Linked DNA regions of Homo sapiens: region 1 is linked to region 2. Evidence: promoter capture Hi-C in human tissues and cell types (Jung and others, 2019). All regions are on one chromosome and are shown on one strand. Each heading gives the region's core, a stretch centred on a gene start or on the middle of the fragment in contact. The rest is flanking DNA. Distances are from core to core; before and after follow the strand shown.

What was found. The method cuts DNA at HindIII sites, captures the fragments that hold promoters and counts their contacts. A contact is called where the count stands out against the background at its distance.
Region 1: a fragment that was not itself captured here is called in contact with the fragment with the promoter of TAS2R16 in region 2 in 1 of the 25 tissues and cell types used here (aorta).

The regions. Positions count from the first base shown.
Region 1 is chr7:122,546,138-122,553,564 of GRCh38, forward strand. All of the region lies in intron 8 of CADPS2 (calcium dependent secretion activator 2), which reads right to left. The region is part of intron 3 of LOC105375481 (a long non-coding RNA gene); the gene reads left to right. Among named protein-coding and RNA genes, the nearest start is that of RNF133, 150 kb to the right of the region's middle. The HindIII fragment of the contact is 6,247 bases long and covers 360-6,606 here.
Region 2 is chr7:122,992,524-122,999,844 of GRCh38, forward strand. TAS2R16 (taste 2 receptor member 16) reads right to left here and starts at 3,177. Exons shown (of 1, transcript NM_016945.3): 1 at 2,181-3,177. The coding sequence starts at 3,111. The coding sequence ends at 2,236. The HindIII fragment of the contact is 11,039 bases long and covers 1,568-7,321 here.

The DNA of each region.
Region 1 (7,427 bases), core at 2,233-4,732, 450 kb before region 2:
TATTAATGTTAAAATTGTGGTGATGTTTCTTTTTATAATCTGAACACACATCTATCACGCTAAAGCAAGTTCATTGTATAATCTTCCCCAGTATTGTTTACTTATGATTTTCAAGTGCTTCAGATACAGTCTACATAGGGGGCTGTGGCCGTGATATTATACCCTATTAACAACGCCCCATTCAAGTAAGTTCTAGTTATGATTATATAGAGAGGAGTAGGAATACTCTTTAGGACCCTTATACCCGTATGTTAACATCTATGGAAAGAATGCCAAAATTAAATACACTAATAGACAAGCTTGGACTACTTTTGAAGAGATTCCTTTTCATCATTCCTGTATTTTTAGGCCATGTCCTATCCTTTGCTATGTTCCATAAACACTCATTTTCTCCTCTTTAGACCTCTGCTGATCTTAAGCTTTTTCCTTCCTTTTTTCAGGGACTTTCAAGTAAGGCCAGCTTTGCTGCCATATGCTGTACTTTTGCTGCTATTGCCCTTCACTACTGCCATGTATGATGCTTTCTGGTTTATGTAACCTTCTGCTCCTAAGTTTCATCCCGACTTTGGCCCACTGCCATGCTCTGACTCTGAAATCTTTGCAAGTCTTGGTACTGTCAGCCCATGCTTTTGCTTGCTTAGTCCATTCCTCTCCGTATACAGTCTAGGACTCTTCCTGCCTGTCTCATCATTAAAACACTGGTTCCTTGTATATTTCTCCTCATTCTTGTCAGCTGTTGGGGAAAATATTTTCATGAATTATTTTTGAGCCTATCTAAATGTGAAAAAAAAGTGTACACCAAATAGAATTGACAGAATAAATACTGAAATAAATATAGCATGACTATTCAAATTCAGGGGTCACTGTAGCAGAAAGAAAGCAAATTACTTTTATTTAGTCCATAAAGATAATATGAACGAAGCTCAAATCTAGGGTGTTTTTTTTTTGCCTTTAATTTTTATAAGTATTGGTTACATAATACATCATTCTTACAAATTAAAACATATTAACCCTGGGGTATACTCTACCCACAAGAAATGTTGCTAAAACTTCTTCCTACAGTTCAACCACAGGGATGGTCTAAGAATAAATGTTGACAGGCAACAAGCCTCCCTGCAGACAGTAATTAATTTCAATTTAAAGTTTTGGGGAAATAATATATTTCTTTTTAATACAGTCTTTAGATTTATAGTCAAATTTAAATTTGTGAAAAAAGGAGACTTCCTGTAATTCTTCTGGGGCAATAATGTTTTGAAACACACTCCAACAAATCCACCTTACAGTGGTACCAATTAGATAATTTGAAGTTAATATCCAAACAATCAGTCCACTTACAACTGTGAGCATAATTTCTGCATTCTATTCTTTTCTAAAAAAAATTCATCAATTCAACAAATATTTGTTTAGCTTCTACTAAATACTAGGCAATGTTCTAAAAATTGGGTTTAAAAATAGCAAGTGAGACAAGGTTCCTATTCTATGGCAATCAAATTTAGTTGGGAAGCTAATCAATAGCAAATTACACCATGGCAATAGCATTCTAGTTGAGGATACAGTTAATAAACAATAAATATCACACAGATAATAAGAGCTTAAAAAAAAGAATGAAGCCAGTTAAAAGTAGAATTGGAAGCAGAGAGAGAAGGGTTCTTTGTAGGGTGAACAGGATGGGCTGCTGTAGAGACAGCACCTGATAAGAGACAGAAGAAACAGAGGAAGTGAGTACTATGAGCATTCTAGAGTAGAGCTGGCAAAGGTCTTTAGAATGCTAATTTCAATGACACTAGTCTCTCTCACTGATTCTTTCCACAAAACATTTAATTAGGCTAATTATACAATCACATGAATGTCTTGAGTGTGATGGTAACTACAAAATAAAAGTCATGTAGACAGTAAGTATTGAGTCAGCTGTTTAGGTTTATCAATCCCTCTTCAAATAAAGCAATTTAGCTGGGTGTGGTGGCTCACACTTGTAATCTCAGCACTTTGGGAGGCTGAGGAAGGAGGATCACCTGAGTCCAGGAGTTCAAGAACAGCCTGGGCAATATAGGGAGACCCCATCTCTATAAAAATTTTTTTAAAAAAACTAGTCAGGTATGGTGGCACACACCTGTGGTCCCAGCTACTCACGAGGCTGAGATGGGAGGGTCACTTGAGCCCAGGAGGTGGAGGCTGCAGTGAGCTCTGTTCACACCACTGCACTACAGCCTGGGAGACAGGATAAGACCCTGTCTAAAAAATTTTTTTAAATTAAAATAAAAATGAATCACACATAAAACTATAACTAAAAATAAACAAAAACAACCTGAGATGAAATTAAAACTAACTCACCTGGTATGTAAATCTAATGAGATCAACAATGTATCATAAAACTTGACAAATTTTAATATCACAACTAGCAAGATTTGATAGACTGGTAGAGCTATATGGATCAAATCATACTTATTTAATGATTTAAGCAAGAAAATTACAAGTTAAACTAGCAAATTGTAGTAAAACATACAATGAGCACCACCAGTTATTTAAAAAGTGTTAGACAGCATTAGACTGAAATAAAGTGAAAGTGCTTTCTTATTCCTCTCACTTGCCATGAAATAATCTCCAGATGCTCTTTATTTTTAGAACCTGAGCTTATTTCTTAGATAAATCACTCAAGTCAGTTGCTCAGACATGGTTCAAAGCCCTTATGTAATATTTTCATTTTTCTCCCTTGGACATAGAGAGAAGACAAAATAAAGTTAGCAGAAAAATAAACACACAAAGAGCAACGAACTACCATATCTACATCCATAATAGCTGTCAAATAAAAATGTAAATTAAAGTCTAACAATTAAGCAAAGGACCTAATAGGGATATAACTGTTATACTCTCAATGAATTAATGATGATTTGTACATTTCTATTTTTCTCATTTGTCTTCAAGCATTTTCTTTTGAATAAAGTCAAATGATGTGGTTAAAACTTGAAGAATATCATAAGGCCGAGCACAGTGGCTCACGTCTGTATTTCCAGCACTGTGGGAGGCTGAGGCAGGAGGATCGCTTGAGTGCAGTAGTTTGAGTCCAGCCTGGGCAACATAGCGAAACCCTGTCTCTACCCTGTCTCTAATACAAAAAAATTGGGGATTGATAAACCTAAACAGCTAACTCAATACTTACTGTCTACATGACATTTATTTTGTAGTTACCACTGCACTAATTAATACAAAAAAATCAAGGATTGATAAACCTAAACAGCTGACTCAATACTTACCGTCTACATGACTTTTATTTTGTAGTTACCATCGCACTCAAGACATTCGTGTGATTGTATAATTAGCCTAATTAATACAAAATTTAGCCAGGTGTGGTGGTGCATGCCTGTAGTCTCAGCTACTTGGGAGACTGAAGTGGGAGGACTGCTTAAGCCTAGGAGGTGGAGGTTGCAGTGAGCGGAGATGGTGCCACTGCAATTCAGCCTGGGCGACAGAGTGAGACTCTGTCTTAAAAAAAAAAGATTAGTATTAATTAATATTATTATTATTATTATAGTTCAAGGGACTCAAGTAGGATTTCGGTGAAATCAGGATAAGCCAGGCTGGGCCAAGTTCAACCTGGGAATGCAAGTAGACCTACACATACATACATACATAGGTTCAAGTCAAGGTCAGATGTCGAAACATAGTTATTTTAGACAAGGACACAGGGGAAAGTCATTCTAAAAGGTACATTTAAAAATGAAATATCAATTTGCTTTGTGAAAGAACAGACTTGGCTTTGTTTAAAGCCTGGACTCTTTGAGCAAATACTACCTCGACGCAGCTAAGATTTTCCTCCCCTAAATTAGTTGGAGATCATAAACCCTGAATAATAATCTAAACAATGAAACTTTACTAGAGTGCAGTCATTTCACTTTATGAGGAAATACAATGTCTGAATATTTAGTGTGTGAATGCAGTTTATGTAGGCATGCTGTCCCAACCTCTGGATGCCCAGCTGGCCCTCTCTCTGGGAAATGGTGGGGCCACAAAGCAGCCGGTGTGGGGCTTGTCTCGTTTTTCTGCTGGAAGTTTAACTATTGTCTCTCCTTGCAACAAGAGATGAGCCCAATGCCTTTTCTATCTTTATGATGGAAATTAAACTACAGAGTTTTATCTGTGACAATGTCAAAATATTTTAATCCATCCGTTCATTCAACAAAATGTGTAAATAGCCAAGCATGACTCTACACAAAGAGAAATATGAGATTCATCTCAGAGTAGTTTTGCTAAAATTTTATCTTACCAATTAGAAACTATGATAAAAGTCTTCTATTATAGTTATATAGTTACGAAACTCTATTTTTACTATAAAAGTAATCAGTTGCATGCAGACTTCTCATAGATCATGGTCATAATGCTTCCACATATTTGTGAAAGCCAATTTTCTCTTTTTCAGTTATAGATTTAATTGTCATAACAGTCATTTATTAGTTCCATTTTATTTTACTTTTTTTGGTTGAGAAAGTAACCTTTGAATTAGGAAAATAATTTTATTTAATAAAAACAGGAATAGTTATTTGAGTTTTAAGTTAATACTGTTACTTAGCCACTAGGCTATGCTAAGGTATAGCCCATTTGTTCAAGAACACTTCTATCTTCATGCTACAGACACACACACACACACAAACCAGGAAAATAAATTCAAAAGCTGGATGTGAATCATTTAACCATTCAAAACATAGCTGGTAATTTGTTCAATAGATTTATCTAAGGGTTAGTTTCTATAATTAGTTTAGATGACATATTCCAAAAGAATAAATAAACTCAAGTTTTTGCTAAATATACGTCTTGTGGTAATGCCCAGTTTGGTTTTAAAAGGATGGAATCATAGTTATGCTTATTTGATCCAAATTAAATATCTATTTTCATTTACATGTAGTTAGTCCTACTTAAATAAACTATAATATATAGTCGTGGACTGATTAGTTATCAGAAACATGAGCTTTAGATTGGATGCATTTTACCTTCTGGTTTAAAAAAATAGTCATATTAAAATGCAACATTGAGAACTAAACACCATTTATTTCATTTATTTTAGGCATTTTTTTACATTAAAATTATGTTCTATTCTCAATAAACTGTGTTTAGAATCTTTTAAGGTTCCATTTGTGAATAAAGCTTACTCTCATTTGTATTACTTTTCCCTTAATACTCTAGGGAGCACAATATTACATTTTCACCATCATTATTCACATTAATATCTATCTCTGATTATACACTGTGGGAGGCATTGAGAATTCAAATAGGTCTAAGAAACTTAGAGTACAGTTGAGAACACACAGAAAAATATAAATAACATTGATAAAAATATTTTTTAGGGGCCATAGATAAGTGATAAATGAATAAAACAGAGAATACATGTTACAATAGTTCACGCAAGAAAGATCTATTTGACGTCCACATTATTAAAACAGAGAATAGGTTTTTACTACTGAAGTCCTAAAGATTTCAAAGTCTAAAGTGCTCTGAAGATAAAAATCCATTATCCTCCAATTTATTTTTAATCCACCTAACAACTCTATCTGTAACAGGAGTTTGCTATATTTTAAAGATAAATTAATATTTTTAAAACTTGACTTGTCTCTCAAAATTATTATCCATCTGTTAATTATTGATTATAGGAGAAATGATTGACAAAACACGATCCAGGCCCAAAGCGAAATGCTATTAATCTACTATTCCTGTTATGTTATTGCTTTGGTGTATGATGGAATACTTGGAAGAAAAAGATTAACTTACTTTCTCTTCTTAAATGTAATTAAGTGCAGTAAAATCCATTGATGAAGTACCTCAGAAAAAGACGAATATAGCTATGCTGTAGGTGAAATGTTTGCCAATACATGTTTACACACAGGTGTATTATTCAAAATGTTTAAAACTGTTACCACATGGGTACTGAGAAAACAGAACAGATGCTTAGGTTAAAGCACCTCTAACTGTCCCTGTCCATAGGGAGCAATTACTATTATAGCATTGCTGAAAATGTTTAATTCTTCTAATATTAGTATTAAAATATTTTAATTGAACCACTATTTTGGAATATGATATTCTTAATTCTGCTACATAACACACTATCTTAGCATAACATCATCACAGATAATTTTCAGTTCTAACATTGCTTCAATGTATACATCAGAAACTGAAGAGATATTTAAATATCTGGAAATGCCTGTATCTCTTAGCAATGTTAGATAATTGGGCTATGAGGCATTTCTGGTCCGTGTCCTTCAGTGAGTTCCTGAGCTTTATGGATTAAATTAAGAGACGATGATATATCCTCTTTAGTCTTTTCCTTCACCTTTAGTCTTGGGCAGAAGGCAATTGCAGGCCTTTCTAGGGGTACTGATTTAGTCAAAGAGATGTGATAAAAACATACCCTACCCCCAAATCAAGCCTTGTAAGGGGTCTGGATTGTCTCACCTATCCTGGAGTATGCTAAACCAAGGAACTGCCAGGTAAGAGCAAGGGTTTCTTCCCACTGGAGCTAAAGGTTACAGGACCTGCCCTATGCATGTTCAGTCTTTGTTCTTGAGACAAGCTGAAGGTCCAGGAGTATTCACCATGGCATAGTACTGGCCATGGGTAAATTAGGGTCATCTCGGCACTATGATAGGTTCCTGTTTTTTTTTTTTTTTTTTATTATTGTGCCATTCATCAAAAGAAAAAGGGACTGAGTGAAAAAGGGTAGAGAAACAACTGCAGTTCCTGGAACATACTGTGTTCTTTTATGTGTAACTCTACTAGTCTCTAAGCACTTTAGAGCACTAGCACTCTCTCTAGTCTCAAAGCACTCTATGACAGTTTCACTGAACTTGTCATCATCAGCTAAAACTCCTTCCAGGACTCCCTGCCTTTGTACATGCTGTCATGTAGCTGGAATGCCAGTTCTCCCACTGTCTACCTGATAAATTTATCCTTCAAGTTTTATCTCAAAAGTCAGGTGTCCTGTGAGACTTTCATTCACTATACCTGGCAAAAATCAGGTATTATTTCTCCCAGGTTCCCATTTCTGTCTTACAGCACTTATCACTATCATAATTATTTGCATACAAGTCTGAATTCCTGACTAGCCAGTTCCTATAGGCCTGCAATAATATCACATTAAAGTTTGTCCTAGTTGGAAGACAGTAGTGCTCAATACATGCCTGCTGCATAAATTACTGGTGAGCAGGTAGATGGATGCATGAATTAAATATTAAATCCCAGATACTCCATGTGCATTATAATCTGAGTCATAGTTAGACTTGACTTTACATTACTACATTAAAGATGCATAATGTTGTTTATCCAAATCATGGTTCCATTTCTAAGAGCCCACCCTCTCATGTACTTTTTCCCTTTGGTGAGGTCTGTTCTGACACTGCACATGCTGCCTACTAAACCAAAAAGCAATACAGTCCTTAGCACCA
Region 2 (7,321 bases), core at 1,927-4,426:
ATTATTTCTGTTTGTATTTTATTTTTTTCTGATTTCTGGATCCCCTCAACTGCTTCTAACACTCCTACCTTATGCATAGCCTGGATAAGTTTTCCATTGCACTTTACTCAAAAGAGACAGTGAGAGTACTAAAAATATTTAACAGCTTCTGGAATAGCATCTGTGTGTGTGATTGTGGGGAGAGGGGGTGTTCTTTTTTTCCCGTTCTCTATTTATACACATATGAGAAGAACGGTTTCTATTTATTTCAGCTATCTGAGGTTTTTGAACATGCAAGACCTCATCTGGATGTGGATGCAAATGACAAATAGCAGTAGAATCCTAATTTCACTGGCTCTTGTTCAATCTATTCCAGCAGGATCCCAAACCCTATAAGGCACCTCCCCTCCAGCCTCCTAAGCATTCCTGGGAGTCAACTCAATGCCAATATCTACCTTTTTTTTTTTCCTTTTTTCTTCTCAGACCCATGGTTAGGACTCTGCTCCCCAGTCATTACTGCATCCACCAGGTTTTGTCCCACCTTCTACTGCAGTGAAACCATTGGACCTAGGGAGATGCAAGGCTGACAGGGTGCTTCTGTGGAGTGGGACAGCATGCTTCACTCCCCTCTGTGTGCAACAGTAGGAATGCTGCTGAGATATGCCAAATGGCACAGAGTCTTTGGTAAAAGTGGTCTTTCAGTTTTTACTTATGTTTCACACCTTCAGTTTCAAATATGAATTTGACTCAGAGACAAATCAGAGTGATAAGCCCACAAGCAGATCAGAATTTCCATTCCTTTCCAGGACTAAGCCATTCTTTCACAGTCAAGCTTGAGATACTTGCATCCTTTGCCCCATAGGATGATTTGCTTTCAGGAGGTGTTTCAATCTTCTAACGGCAGAGCTAGAAGATCAGTTCACCAGACATGCCCAATATATACAAAGGGTAGAAAACATCACATTATTTACGCTTGGTACCAGAATGGTGTAAGAGATGCAACTGGCTTTAAGAAGAATACCTTAATAAGTATCTGGGGTGGACAGAGGCTGAGACCCAAAGGCATAGTGGTTGGACATTACCAAGACACATAGCTGCTGGTAGTTGAGGGTGAAGAGGAGATAAATGAGGAGTGAGATGCCTTGGAGATAAGGGCATGGGGTCCTGCAAGGGAAGAAGGTATGAGAGAAACGTGTCAGACAGGGAGGCAGAAAGAACGTCTAAAGAATGAGTATGTTTTATACGTGATTTTTCACTGATTACTGTGTGATTTCTATATTCTTATTCATTTTGGGAGGGCTTTGGACAGAATAAAAAAGTGTAGAAAGTGTAAGCCAACGCCACTCAAATGTTATGAGCTAAGAGTGGTTCTTAACTGATATCTGGGTTGTATATGGGAAATAAAACAACTATGTCTCAACATGGAGATGTTCCATCAAGTTAATAATACAATACAAGTTATAATACAATAGAGAGGCAAGAATTGAGCCAATGGAAACCATTTATAGTTGTATAGTTGACACAATTAAATTGTCAATATTTGGGGAATTATTAAGGATGAATCTGGATTGGGTAAAGTGTCTGCTATTCTGGGGAAGAGTATAATGTTTTGGCTAATGGAAATGAAGAAAGAGTTAAATTTTGACTTGAGTTTTAAAGAGATAAAGACATGGCATTTGGAAGAGAAGCAAATAAGAACATTTGTGTCATCAGATAAAAGTCCAGAAACAGCCAGGGGATAGAGAAAGAGAGAGAGATGGAGAGGGGGAGAGAGAGAGTGAGGGAGAGAGAGAGAGAGAGAGACTCCTTGACTAAAAAAGTGAATTGAAGGCTTAGTATGGGAATCATTCAGGGTACAAGCAATATGTTTCTGTGGGATGGTATTCATATTCATGTGTGAAGTAACTGGCAGTCATGGGAAGGTTAAAGTAATGTGTGGACACCATGATTTTGACTGTCTTGTGTAGAATATACCAGGTGTACAATTCCAGAGTTGGCAAGGACTAAGGAGAGATGGGGCAGTCTTGAGCAAGTTGGAACCAACCTGAGGATTGTGAAAGGGAAAGGAAACCAGTGGAAAAGGATAGAGAAAGGGTTGATTATTTACAAATACATGGCTGCGAAGATGGAAGGGAATGAGGGTTGCATTATGGTGATTCACAATGAATTGATTGATAAGAGCAATACTCTCTTCTGGTATTAATTATATCAATTGCTCGGGAGTCTTTTATCCTGTGCCTCAGGCAACCTCTAGGCCTAGCACTTTCCCTTTAGAATCCTTTTCAACGTAGGGCTGCTCAGCATCAGTGAAGTGGAATGCATTAAGATGAAAGCATAGACAAAAGCTTCCCAGACCCATAACCAACATCTCTTATCAAATAGAGTACCTATAATGGTGATGAGTATGGTTAGAAAGTAAGAGGTAAACACAATAAATAAGACGGCAAGGGACCTCAGGGCAGTGAAGCGCGCTTTCATGCTTGGATTGCAGTGACCAGTGCTATGATGTTGTATCTGCTTGGTCAGTGATGCCATGAGAAAGATGGTGGAGGCCAGGAACAGGATGAAAGGAATAACCAATGCAACTGTATGAGCCTGGAACTGATACTGATGAAAATTTTCAAGTTTGTCAGTTACAGTGCTGTTTCTTGGTAGATGCTCCATGGTGAGTAACTGAATTTGAATGTAATTCCCAATAGCTGAAGGGATGATTGTTACACAAGTAATCATCAGAGAACCCAGTAATATCCAGGGAAACAACCTCAAAATTCTCCACCTCAGCCAGAGAAAGATGTGATGGGTGAAAGAAGAGACCTTGATGCAGTAGAACACGGTAAGCAAGCTGTTTAACCAGAATGTAAGGATATTAAAAAATTCCCAGGTGATTGTTAAGTTGCAAAGTACATAATTCAAATTAAAATAGGAGCAAAAATTGTTCAGCATTGATGCCCACTGTAGACAGAAGCGAGAGATGCCCAGGCTGATGAGAATCATGTCCACAGGCATCAGCCTTCTGACTTGCAGCCATTCTCTGCCCAGCACTGCAACAATTAGGCTGCTCTGCACAATAATTGTCAAGGACTCAAGCACATAGATGATCATGAAGAAGACAGTGAGTTGGATGGGTATCATTCTTCTACTCCAAAGTGTCTTCCTGGACAAAGACTCTGAATCTCTGTACCAATTTCCAGGTAGAGAATGGGTTCCTGATTCCACCACTGTCTGGTACAAGAAAACCCCTCTCTCTGGAAGCAAATTTTCCCAAGCTCATTTTTGATTTTGTCATTTTCCTATCTATAGAATTTGTTTATGCTTTGCTTGCTGGTTTGCTATCACATCTGAATGTAGGGAAATGTTTAAATGTGGATTCCTGCTCCTGAGGTGATTTGATTATTCCAAAAAGGCATATGTATTTCATAACCATGTTGTTTATTTCCTCTTTTTCTGAGGTGCACTTAGCTTATTTCCTTATCTTCTTTAAATGACATCTTCACTCTTTTAACCTAAAATTTGAGCAACAAGAAAGATGAATCCTTCCCTGTTCATTCACGTCCTGCATGATGTTTCTGCTCTGTTGAGTGCAGTACCAAAGCGAACCTCAGAAGCCCTATCTTCCCAGTTCTCATGGCAGCTAGTGGTGGATGCTACAACCAAAGTGTGAGGGTAAATAAAAATGATAATGAAAAGTCTTTCCTCCGAAATTCCACAAAATTGCTGAACCCCAGACCTTCAAGTATTTCCATCCAATGCAGGCCACTCTCATAACTGCCCATTGAATTCCCCCACTTAGAGAAATCAAACTGCAGAGAAAACACTGCACACAGCCTCTCTTAGCTATTGTTCTTCTGCCAATTCCGATGCTTTGAGCATATGCCTTATATATTTTCAGGAATTGTTCTTGTCCCATTAACATCACTGTGTGTTTTTTTTTTTCTCTTACATGGCTAGGTTCTTTTTGTCACTGCTCCCATTGCTCAGGAAGAATTGAAAGAGGACCCTCTTACCACTAGTAAAGCGTATTACTTCTAAATGTGCAGGCATCATTTCATAGCTATACAAGCAGGCTATAAAAGGAATACGTTTTCCTTCAGTTCAGGACAACTCTTCCAAATAGACACCAAATATGTAATAAGTGGCTTCAGAAATGAGAGGTTATTCTAATTGCTAGTTGGTGACAGAGACAAAGTGAAAGTCATTGACCTTATGTATGATAAACTCGGAGTCTGTATGGACTTTTTAGTCATTCAAGGAAGACAACACAGAAGCAAGCAAACATGAATCTTAGAATTCTTGAACACAAAACAAGAAACTACTGAACTCATGAAGCAAAGGTAAGCAATAGCTTGAAAAATTACACCAGAAAACAGAATTAAGTGTAAGAAAGCATCTGCTTTGCATTCTCAATAAAATGCAAGAAACAGGAAATAAAAAACTGAGATGACAAAACAATATATATTATTAAAAGGTGAATTGGTTGAGATGTATCCAGACATAAGAAGGGAGAAAGATGAGATATGAAATGTTGGTATGTGAAACATGCAATAATAGCATTAACCTCTAATTTATGTCCTGAATACACTAAGCATGTTGCCAGCTATATACACTGCCCCATTCTGAGTAAACTTGGAAGGACTGTGATGCTCTCAATCTCTGTCTGAGGGGTTGTGAAAGTGTGGCCACCATACTACACCCCTCATGACTGGATTCCAGCCACAATAGTATGACCAGGAATGAGTTTCTGTCCAAAGCAGCCCCTCATAGACTGGCCTGCTGCATGAGAGATGGCCTGGCACTACTCTACTCCACTGGAGTGTTTTCTATGTGATAGTGGCTGATTAAATAACCCAGATACTCTTTTTGGGAAAGTTTGAAGGTGAGACATACAGAGTGTCCATAGACTGGTGATTGATGTTCCCTGGGGTTAGGAGTTGAGAGTCTGGCTCTTTCATCATGTGTGCATGTGAACCTTCAGGGCCACCTCTGGGGTCTCCTCATTGCAGTGATCCCAATTCTGGTTTGCCTTCTTCCACTCTCCTTTAGCTCACACCCTTTCCCTTATCAGACAGGGGATTGTTGTCCCTTAACTAGTCCTCATTGGTCAGGTGCTGGCAAGGTGACTGAAGCTCAGCTACCTTCTGCAGTGTACATTTGATCTATGGCAAACTCTGGCATTCTTTTCAGTAAAAATGATAAATGGCAGGAGGCCCATGCCTCTCTACTCTGTCATCTCTCCAATTCTCTTTCCCCCTTCTCAGGTAGACATGAGGGAAGGCCCACCAGTTTTTTTCCTAATGTCCCACAGGGAAAAAGAATGCCAATTTATGTTTATAAGCATCTACTATCTTCACTGTTAGAGATTTTGTCTTTTTCTCATTCCTGAGCATACTCCTAGTTTCCTCTAATACTTTATTTACTTCCCCCTGAGGGAGGCAGACTGTTGTATCTTATTTGCAAATTTGATAGGAATAACTTGCCCAATTCTAGACTTTGCTATTATCAAGCAAACATTATATATATACACATATGTTATATATAACATATGTATATATATTAATATATGTATATATAATATATATACATATGTTATATATAATATATAAATGCTTGCTATTATCAAGCAAACATTTTATATTTATATACACATATACATTTTTATATATAAAAATGTATAATACACACATATATACACATATATAATAAATTAAGGGTGTTTCTAGATGGTACTCTTTTTTGATGTGTATGTGTTTGTGTGTTTCATTAAAAAACTTTAAAAACAGGAAAATAAAAGAGCAGGCAATTCGCCAAAGGGTAGACAATAATACCAATTAGTTCATAAAAGGATGCTTAACCTCTCTAGCAATAAGAAAAATACAAATAATACTGAGTAGTTATTTTTCATTTTTCTCATTGCAAAAACAAAATAAAATTTGAATATCAACTCTAAGAGAAGATATGAAAAAATCAGAGTCTTTATGAACCACTGGAAGGAATATGAATTAAGATAGTTACATTGGAAAACAGTTTGGTCATATTTAATAGAAAATGTACAGACCTTATTCTGCAGGCATTCTACTTCTAGGTATATATTGTATATTATAGAGAAATCCTTACACATATATAAACAAGCAGAAATTTACTAGTCTATTTATTTCAGAATTGTTGTAATACCAAAAGACTGAAAACTATGTACATGACCATCAGTTAAGTAATAGATCAAATGTGGTATAATCATATGATGGCTTAAAGCCATGTGGATGTTTGCCTCCCTGCAAGCAAGTTTGCTACATTTTTCCCTTATAGGCAGAACCTATCTCTTTCTGGAGAGGCTTTAAATGCCAGACTCTTAGTTTAGTGTTTTCTTTGCCTGTTCAGTTTGGGCACACGAATCAATTCTGGTCACTGGGAATAGAGGAGAAGCCTGCTGAGACCTCCTGTGACAAACGTTTCTCTCTGATAAGAACAGAGAGATTCATGAGGAGAGATTCTTTCCTCTTCATCTTGTGTTTGGTGTTATTCTGTATTGTGCATGGTGCTAGGAGTTGTAGACATTTCGTGACCCTGAGGGGAAAACAGCGGAAATTGCAAAGAAACTAACACAGGGCCTGATTTTGTGTAATGCTTATTAGTACTGGGCCGAAGTAGCTCTGAAATCCTGTTATGTGAGCAGAATATACACTGATAGATTAAACCACTTACAACTAGCATGTGGTACTGAGCAGGTGGGATAACACTGAGAGGGAGAAAGAAAAAGTGCTTTATTTGATAATATTTTCCCCTCACACAGCAGTATAATTAATTGAATAAACTTATTTCTGTATACCTCAGTTCCACAAGTAAAACATAAGGAATGATAAAAATGATCACCAAGATCCAATAAAAACATAGATTATAATATGCAGATAAGGCAGTAAGTGTGTTTCTATGTTCATACATAAATCATGTGTTCCATAAAAATATAAATTTAAAATAATGTAAAGAGAAATTTATTCACCAGCATTCTAACTTATGTAGCGGAAAGCAGATAAATGTGTCTGGTTATTCCCAGGAAGTGAAGCAACCAGAGCAAGGAACAGGACCACACTTTACCCAGCTGCACTAGGTGGAGGGAGGACATCACAGAGGGAGCACTGGGTACTGAGTAGAGAGGCCAGAGAAAGGTTTGCCAGCAAGAAATAGAAATGTACCTTATGTCATGTGATTCTTCTGCTCAACTCCAGAAACTTATGGGAAAGAGCATGACTAACACAAATATGAGTACTTTTCAGTTGCATAGGGAAGGGACTCTGAATCTGGTTCTGAAGAGAGAAGTGATTGAGAAATGCCTGTGGACTCAGGAGTACAG